3 separate regions of the Homo sapiens genome follow, and all the other regions are linked to region 1. The links are contacts of gene promoters, found by promoter capture Hi-C in blood cells and fetal thymus (Javierre and others, 2016). All regions are on one chromosome and are shown on one strand. Each heading gives the region's core, a stretch centred on a gene start or on the middle of the fragment in contact. The rest is flanking DNA. Distances are from core to core; before and after follow the strand shown. Region 1 holds the start of NGEF (neuronal guanine nucleotide exchange factor). Region 2 overlaps ATG16L1 (autophagy related 16 like 1). Region 3 overlaps DGKD (diacylglycerol kinase delta).

Region 1 (2,876 bases), core at 115-2,614:
ATAGATGAGAGACTACTTCAATCTGGCTTTCAGGGACAAAACTGAAACCCATGTTTTGTGGCAATCAGATGGCTGTGGGAACTTTCAAAGATGGCCCTCAGGGACCCCCACCCCTGGTATTGTGCCCTGTGTAATCCCCTACCTTTGAGTGTAGGCTGTGCCTGATGACTTCCTTCTAACGAGTAGAATATGCCAGAAGTGATGGAATATCACATCCTTGAGTATATTACAAAAGACTGACCTACCTCTTCCCAGACTCTCTCCATAGCCCTCTCTGATGCAACGAGCTGCCAGGGCGGAGAGGCCCACATGGCAAAGGACTGATAGTGGCCACAGCTGACAGCTGAGAGGGGCTGAGGCCTTCATCCTACAGCCCTAAGAAACTGAATCCTGCCAACACCAGCAGCTTGGAAGTGGATCCCCCCTAGTGGAGCCATGAGATGAGACCTCAGCCCCTCCAACACTTGGATGGCAACTTATGAGAAACCCTGAGCAGAGAACCCAGCCAAGCAGTGCCCAGACTTCTAGCCACAGAAACTGAGATGACAAATGAGTGTTATTTCAAGCCACACACTTTGAGTTAATTTGTTTCCAGAACAGATAGCTAAAACAAACGCTGATTTGAGTTTTATATAAAGATGGATGATGTAGCAATTAAACTTGGCAAATGATGGTAGTGGTTTTGATACTAGTTGGCTTGGGTTTGAATCCTGGATCCCCAACTTACTAGCTGTGGGGCTTTGAGCAAGATGATCAATTTCTTGAGCCTCTGTTTCTGCATCTTTAAAATGGGCATGATTCTCTGGTCATAGTGACAACACAAGGATTACATAGATTATGTAATGTACTTAGCCCAGTGCCTGTCATGTAGTAAGCACTGGATTAAAGGAAGCTATTAGAGGGAATAATAATAATAATAATAATAATAATAATAATAATAATAATGGAGCAAGATGCCTTACAAAGCAGTGAGTGTTCCATGCCTGGAAGTGATTGAGTTAAGGCCAGATGGCCATGGCAGGAAGTGACTAGAACCCTGGAGGACCCCAAAGCCTCTCCCAAATCTCAGATTTGAGGGCCGTGCAGCTGGCTTGGCCAATGCTTGGGGTTGGTGGGCCAGCTGAGCCACGGGCCCCTCTTGGTGTGACCATCAGCATTATCTTGCACTGGGCGGGCGGCGGGTATTCCAGCCATGCCCAGCCTTCCCCTCAGATAGCCCTTCCCTCCTGCACCACTTTTGTGTCAGGTATGTGGCTGCCACCCTGGCTCAACCCATGGGGCCCAGGAAGGTAAACACCCAGCCGGGAAGTGATCGTTATGGGCTCGTGGCCAGCTATGGGCCAAGGCAGGTCTAAAGGTCGGGAATGCTTACCAGTGAAGCTTTTCCAGGACAGGACGAAGTTTTTGGCTGTGGGCTCTCTGGGACAGAGTGGAGCGCCTGTGGATTTAGCCGGGGACACACCATCCTGCTCGCAGGTGCCTGGACAGGACAGGGGACGAGGGAGGAACACTCTCTGAGGAAGCCCAACTCCTATGAGCTCCTCTCTGGCAGGTGAGAGAATGGTTTTGGTATTTTTTAAAAAAATAAAATGAGATAAAACAAGAGAAGGAACAGAGGCTACCGCTAGGACAGGTAGGAAAGGAGATTACCACCCATCCATTCACTGAGGAGGAGCCCCCAAGAGAAACAGCAGCCCTGGATTCCACCCGAGGGATCCTGTCTGGTCTCGGCTTCAGCACTGCCCCTCCTGGCACTCAGTTTCACCATCTGGGAATCAGGATAAGGACTCCTTCCAGGCGCTCTTCCATTATGGCTGTGGGGTAAGTGAGATCAAAAGCAGGAATGGCTGCATAATTGCAGGGCCCTGTGCAATATAAAAATGCAGGGCCCCTTGTTAAAATAGTAAGGCTTTCAAAAGGACAACAACACAGCATTAAAGCAAGCCGGGGCACCTTCTAAGAACAGGGCCCTGTGACTGCCCAGGCCCCACACCCACGACGCCAGTCCTGATAATGAGCGTATATGTAAACGGAAGTGCCCTGATTCCTGTGTGCCATGGCACAAATCTCAGGGTCAGGAAGTGCACTTGGGAAACAGAAGTCATAGTCGTGAAGTGACAGCCCACTGCGCTTTAGCTCCCCCAGCACTGCCCCCTCCGCTCAGGGGCCCCTTTCAGAAAGACAGAAGGCCCTACCCCTCAGAACCTTCCTGATTTTTGCATCTGGCTGGCCTCAAGCCACAGCACGGTGTGACTGAAATGTGTAGGGACACAGTTTTCTTGGATGTGAAAGTGGTAGGTTCTTATTGTCTATCTTGATTTAAAATTTGGGACAGTCACACAGTCTCTGGCTGTGTAGAGGTGGGACTTGTGTTTCCTGGGCTCGTGACAGCTCTGCTATGTTCCATTGACTATCAGTGTATTTCTGCTTTTTGGGAAAATCCTTAATGCAATAAGGCCACTGGTGGGAATGTTCCAGCTTGGACACTTGCCATGTGTCTTTGTCCTCCCTGCCCCTTCTCTCTTTCTCTCTCTCTCTCTCTCTTTTTCCATTTAGGCTTCCCCTTTGCCCATGTCTCAGGCTGCCCCTTGGCACTGCTTAGCTCTGAGGAAGTAGAAGCCAGGGTCCCCTTGGGGGTCAAGCTTTCTGGTCCATGAAGGGAGACCACAGACCACCTCCCTCCACCGCACTCTCCTCCCACATCCCTTTCTGGAGCCCAAATTGTCATGGGAACCCCTCCCAGGGAGGGGATCCCCACAGGAAAGCCAGGGGTTGATCCAATGACAGTGTGAGTAACATTCCACAGCTTTCTGCCCCAGTGGGGCTGGGGACACAGATGAGGCTAGACATGGGGGAAGATGAATTGCTTTAAGAAG
Region 2 (3,275 bases), core at 1-2,500, 270 kb before region 1:
TAGAACCTAATAGGCACTGTGCCAGGTGCTGGGGGTACAAAGATGATTAACGCCCAGACACTTGTCCTCAGGTAGTCAGCTCTCAGCTTAGTAAAAGAAACAGATATAGACCACCACCGTGCCATAGAATAGGTTTGCACAAGATGCTGGGAACATAGACACTCAGCCCACCCAGGAATGTGAACAAGGCTCCCCAGAGATGACAATCAAGATAAGGACTCTTGGTAGATGAGGACGCTACCTTGGCCTCACCCAGTCATCACCTCCACCCAAGCTCCTGCACTCGCCCAGCCCAACCTCCTCTGCTCCCTCTGCCTGTGGTGTCCGTCCCTGGCTTTTTGCCTCTGACCTTTGATTATCTTTAGATCTGCTTTAAATGCCTTACTATGGCCCCTAACCCTTGCCCCAGAATGAGCTACTCTCTCATCAGTATTTCCTTTCTACTCCACACACATCTCAGCCATAACTCAGCACAACGCTTTGCAGTTTAATGCTTTCCCATCACTCTCATTTAGATGGCGAATCTCGGAGGGTAGAGACCACGCTGGCCCCTGGAGTACAGCATCTATACACTCAAAATACAACTATTAAGTGAAATTATACAAAGTACTGAGTAACATCACAAGCCTAATGCATGAAGCAGAACCCAAGGGTTTATCAGAGTTGATACAGCAATTAACCCTATAATCTATTTCCATCTTTCTTTAACATGGATTTGGCTTAAGATACAGAGAATGGCAGAGAAATCGGGTAAGTTATGTTATAATTTCAAGAACCTAATGTCTTAAATTATTTCTAAAAACCTTTAAAATCATAGCTATTCAATACTTACAGCACTATCAAATTCAATGCTTGTAATTCCTGCATTACTGCCAGATAGGGAACCCTTGAACTCACATTTTTCTGTATAAAAAGAAAAAATTAGGATGATGGGAAGTTAAATAAAGCCAATAAATACATTAAAACAGGGCACTGAAATACAATGGAAGCCAATTACACTGCTAAAACAATAGCTATCCTGTACCTTTACAGAATCAAACAAAATAGCAGGACAAAGAGAACATGAGAGATAAAAGATACTGCTAGTTTCTAAGAGGAATGCAAGTCTAAGTGGACACTGACCCCAGCATCTTGGATGTGTGTTCTGTTCTTTAAGAAATGTAGTTATTCATTCTCTTTAGAAAAACAAAGTGTAGGAATTTATAAACCATGTCAATCAAACTAGAGACTGGGTTTATTCAGTTCCACTATTTCTCAGTACATTTTAAAAACTTACATACATAAATATTTGGGTTGATCAGCATTTGTGCCAACTTAACTACCACTTTTGTAGAAACTGGCAGTCAATTTCTGGACCCATGGTGTGGTAATTTTCATTAAGGTGTGAAAAGAAATTGTGTTAGTTACATTTAAATGACTACTCATATAGAATACCAGTCAAGCTAGTTTGGAGTTTCTGGAATTTGCCCTCATACTTTATCTCCATGAATCTAAGATCCTGGCAAGCGAACTAAGTGCCAGCACCTCCCATCCCTCTACACAGCTCTCCCTCACCAACAGAGCCACTGTCCACTTTATCTACTCTGCTTCCAGACAGCCTGGCCACCCACACGGAAATTTCAGTAACGGGCAATCCCAAACTGAGAAGAGCAAAAATCTCAATGATTTGATTAAATTCCTTTTAAAAGGGTAACTTAAGGATGATCCACACAGATAAGCTAGAAATTAAGGAACCATTGTAATCATATTTGTAAAAGAGGAACACAGAACAGAAAACATTTCAACACATTTTTATCTTATTCAGTACTTCTAAGTAGTAAAAATAATGATTGGAGCCAGATATCAAGGTGACACGAATACTGGTTTGAAGCTGTCATGTACATTCAGGCCACAGACTGTTAACCTGGTTGATGAACCTCTCCTCTGAACTCACTTGCAAAATACAGCATATTTAATGGCTTTTTCTGGATCCTAGCTTTCTTAAGATTTTCAAAAGGGTTGAAAAAGGCTAATATTCGCTAAGATTTTCCTTTAGATGAAATCTTCACAGATAAAAATATTACTGCAAATTCTAAGAAATATCTCTTTGGCTTATGCTTAAAATACTGGTCTATTTGCTTGGCACTTAACACAGTGCCGAAATGTAGGAAGTGACCAAAAAATTAATGCTATTCAATATGAGAGATTGATCTCAAAAGAACAAAGACCGTATTAAAACTCTTAATTATCTACAAGATACGGGGTTGGGGGCGGGGGGTGCTATGTCAACAGCATTTGTATAATTCCCAGTGGAACTTCTGCTTTGGAGAAAATGAGCAAAAACAGATGTTCCCACTGGGTAGAAAGTGTGATTCTTCTGATAATCTAAAAGGATGAAAAAACAGGACCCCCAAACTATTTCAGAAAAGGTCTCTTGAACTTGGCCTCTTCCAAGATTCAGTAAATAAATATTTGCCAAGACGAAAAATCTTGTAGACTGAAACAGCTGTTTGTAGAAGAAAGGCCCTACACAAAACTGTAAGAAATGCCGCCACACATTCTGCTATTTCTGTAGATTAGGTAGAAACTTGATTTTATTAACACAAATTATGTGCTGGCACAGATTATGTCAGTATTAACTTCAACTGATGTTCGTTTCTTTTCAGCCGCAAAAAGGTTACTAGAATTAAAGGTTGGTACCTCTAATTTTCTTATAGGTGTTTTTACTGACCAAGGAGTAAAACGAAAATATTTCTAGTGTTATTTTTATTTAAATCTCAATGGCATACTCAAAACAGACTGTTTACTTTGATTTTGCAAATCAAATTCCCTAAAATTTCCTTTTTTAAAAGACACAGGGTCTTGCTCTGCTGCCCATGCTGGAGTGCAGTGATGCGATCAGAGCTCACAGCAGCCTCTCACTCCTGGGCTCAATTGATCTTCCCACTTCAGCTTCCCAGGAAGCTGGGACTGCAAGTGCATGCCAACACACCCAGCTACTTTTTAATATTTTTTTTGTAGAGGCAGGGTCTCATTTTGTTGCCCAGGCTGGTCTTGAACTCCTGGCCTCAAGCAATCCTCTTGCCCCAGCCTCACAAAGTGAAAATTTCTTATGATTTGTTTTTATTATTGTTTTCTAATTGCTTCAGCCATTATCATTCATAAGCTAAATGTTTCTGGGCAAAATAGTAAATTTTAGTATGCTTCAATGGGCTCTAACTGCTGAGTCCCTTTCCTGAAAATCAAAGGCCGGGGCAGATAGGAGGGGTGCTTTACTAATAACCTATTCTAATAAG
Region 3 (3,180 bases), core at 406-2,905, 410 kb before region 1:
ACTCACCTAACAGAGTATCCAGAGGAGGCCAAGCTGAGAGCCGGGATGTCTCCTATACCACCTGGAAATGAGTCCTCACCCCCGACAGCACAAGAGGATATGCAAGCGGCAAATAAGCACACAGAAGATACTCAACATCCTTAGCCATCAGAGAAACACACTGAAACCACAACCAGAGAGCCCTACGCACCTATCACGATGGCTACAACAGAAACTAGTGCCAACACCACCTGCTGGAGAGAATATGGAGAAAGTGGATCTTACTGTTGGGTGGGATGTAAAACATTACGGCCACTCTGCAAAACGGTTTGGCAGTTTCTTAAAAAACCAAGCATGTGACTAGCATATGACCCAGCAATTACACTCTTCAGCATTTATCCCAGAGAAATGGAGATTCATGTTTGCACCGAAACCTACCCAGGAATGTTTACAGCAGCTTTATTCATGATCACCAAAAGCTGGAAACTATTCGGATGCCCTTCAGGGGGTAAATGATTAACAAACTGTGGTACACCCGTGGAATACTACTCAGTAATAAAAAGGAACAACCACTGATAAGACTCATCAACCTCAATGAGGCTCCAGGGAATTACGCTGAGTGAAAAATCCAACCCCAAAGGTTACATACTATAAGATTCCATTTATATCACATCTTGAAAAGACCAAATTATAGAAATGGAGACCAGATGAGTGTTTGCCAGGGGTTACAGAGGGACATGTGTGAGGCTGTAAAAGGGCACAAGGAAAATCTCTGCGGCTTGGAGGCTACCCATCTCCACTGTAACGAGGTTAGTATCCTGGGTGTGACATTGTACTGGAGTTGTGCAAGAGGTTACCACTGCATGCAACTGGGTAAAGGGTACAAAGAATCTCAAAATAAAAGCTTTAATTAAAAATAAGTAACCACCATCAACAATATTTAAGTTTAAACTGGGAAAACCAAGGAGTAACTCCAGAACAATGCTGTGTTTCTTAAGGACAAGGGCGTATGTGGGCAGCGCAAGTTAAAAGTGTAATCTTATCTAAAGTCCTGTATTTGTAGTTAGTGCAACCCATGAAACATCTGACGCCAAGAAAATATTATGTGGACACAGCCGACACACCTTTGGTACACATTCTCAAAGAAAAGGACCAGGTCCTCTATGTCAGGAGGGGTGGGTAGAAATGCCAGCTGCCCCGCCTGTCCCTGCGCCTGAGTCCAAGCACACGCAGGAGTGTCATGGACCACGCCCTCCGGTTGAGCTGCTCATTTTGCTATGGGCTCTGACACGTGGCCTGGGTACTTGAGCCTGCACAAGGCAGGGCCCTGGAAATGGAAGGTTTCATTTCTAAACACAACAGTGCTTGAGGAATCAGTGGAGCTATGTAACCTGAGGAGCTCAGCCATGAAGAGAGGATGTCAGAATCGCAGGCTCCTGCCCTCAAACAGTAGTGCACTTCCTGGGTGGGGCGGGCCAGCCCAGCACCCACTACGGCAATACCAATGTATGCTCTGGGAGTGGCCGAGATGGTGCCAAGACAAGGCCCCAAAAGAAGCTGCCTCTGCAGCCCCACAGCCCACTGGCCATGCCCCTCGGGGGTCCTACTACACACTTAGGGGGCCTCAAGGTCCTTCTGCCACTGCCTCCCAGAGACCAGTAATTGTCCCATCCCCCCAACCTCCCAAGTCAGAAACTGCTCCCTCAACTTCACCTCCTCTCTCCTGTGCTATCTTCATCATTGGGCTCCAAATTCTTTCTTTCTTCCTCAGAAATAAATTCAGGCAGTCTTTCACTTGAGCAAACAGAAAAGATTCCTGCTCCTGCGGAAGTTACATTTGAATGCAGGCAGTAAATTAAAGACTTATTAAAGAAGTGAATTACACAGCATGGAGAGTAGTAGCTGGTGACAAGCCCTATGGAAAAACGGGAGACCAGAAAAGAGAGGTCTGGGGGCCAGGGGACTCCACAGCAAAAACGGGGAGGAGGCGAGGAAGGAGCCAGAGACTGGAAGGAAGCAAGGAAGGAGGTGGGAAGGGCTGAGCAGAAGCAGGCGCGTGGTGCGTGGCTGGGGCTGGCATCAGGAAGGGGGCCAGGGGCCAACCTGCAAGCATCAGGACCACAGAGGGCCATGCAGGTGTAAGAACTTTGGCTTTTACTCCACGTAAAATAAGAAGCCATGCAAGCTCAAGTTTTGAAAGCATCATTCTGGTTGCTTTATTGAAAGCTGACAGTAAGATGCAGGAAAGAAGGCAGGAAACCTTTTGGGAGGCTCCTCAGTAACCCCATCACGAGATGATGGTGAGGAGAGTGGGCAGGCTCTGGATGTGCTCTGAGGACAGCAGACGGGACAGGGTGAGACAGAGAGGAGTCCACAGTGACCTCCGAGCAGCTGGCTGGGTGCTGCTCCCATCCCAGGAAGGGGACACTGTGGGTGGAAGCAAGCTTTACAGCTGGGGTGGCGGCAGGGCCAGCAGGTCCGTGTGGACATGCTGAGGGCACGGTGTCGATTAAAGTCTCAGCAATGTCCAATGTCTTATCTCACTCATGAGGTCTTCATCTTGCCCTCAGTTTGGTATGTTAAAAAAGAAAAACTTAAAGACACTATAGAAATGAGATCACTCATACGTGACCACTGCTGCTGATAGTTCTGGAGGTAATTTGACGATCACCAGTCAAGCTGAAGATGCACACACCTGGCAATTCTATCCTTAGAAACACATTCTAGAGAAACTCTTGCCCATGTGCCAAGAAGACGAAGATAAGCATATTCACAGCAGCACTACTGATCACAGGGAATCTGGGAAAGTGTACGTCCACAACAGGACGTCTTAGGTACTGGAACACTACAGAGGCCACGAAAACCAGCATCGTGGGCCTCAACTCAGGCCGCGCCTGTCAGGAGCTCTGCGGTTCATGCCTCGTTCCCCAGAAATTCTGATTTAACTCCAGGAATCAGGAATCAGTTGTATTAAACCTTGAACCATTTAACTAAAGCTAGATGTAGCCACAGGGATAAATCCAGGAAGCGTAATGCTGTGGCTGTCCAGTCTGATAACATTTATTCGACATTTCAGAACCAGTTCAACAATGCTATATACTGTTTATGCCTACACACACTTATCAAAAAAGTATATAAACATGAAAACAAATGACAAACACCAAAGTTAGGATGCCCCCAGGGAAGGGGGAGCAGGAAGAA

The links. Contacts are between HindIII fragments. The CHiCAGO score rates a contact against its expected background, and 5 or more counts as called.
Region 2: a fragment that was not itself captured here is called in contact with the fragment with the promoter of NGEF in region 1 in 1 of 17 cell types (neutrophils); the score reaches 5.1 in neutrophils.
Region 3: a contact is called between a fragment that was not itself captured here and the fragment with the promoter of NGEF in region 1, in 1 of 17 cell types (neutrophils). The highest score is 5.3, in neutrophils.

Annotation. Positions count from the first base shown.
Region 1 is chr2:233,011,744-233,014,619 of GRCh38, reverse strand. NGEF (neuronal guanine nucleotide exchange factor) reads left to right here and starts at 1,364. Exons shown (of 15, transcript NM_019850.3): 1 at 1,364-1,552. LOC101928881 (a long non-coding RNA gene) reads right to left here and starts at 2,006. Exons shown (of 3, transcript NR_136325.1): 1 at 1,651-2,006; 2 at 1,373-1,480. The HindIII fragment of the contact is 3,625 bases long and covers 1-1,382 here.
Region 2 is chr2:233,278,733-233,282,007 of GRCh38, reverse strand. It overlaps ATG16L1 (autophagy related 16 like 1), which reads right to left. Exons shown (of 18, transcript NM_030803.7): 11 at 833-903. Among named protein-coding and RNA genes, the nearest start is that of SAG, 27 kb to the left of the region's middle. The HindIII fragment of the contact is 5,263 bases long and covers 1-3,275 here.
Region 3 is chr2:233,420,461-233,423,640 of GRCh38, reverse strand. The region is part of intron 3 of DGKD (diacylglycerol kinase delta); the gene reads right to left. Among named protein-coding and RNA genes, the nearest start is that of DGKD, 68 kb to the right of the region's middle. RefSeq lists an enhancer at 1,304-1,453. The HindIII fragment of the contact is 1,540 bases long and covers 886-2,425 here.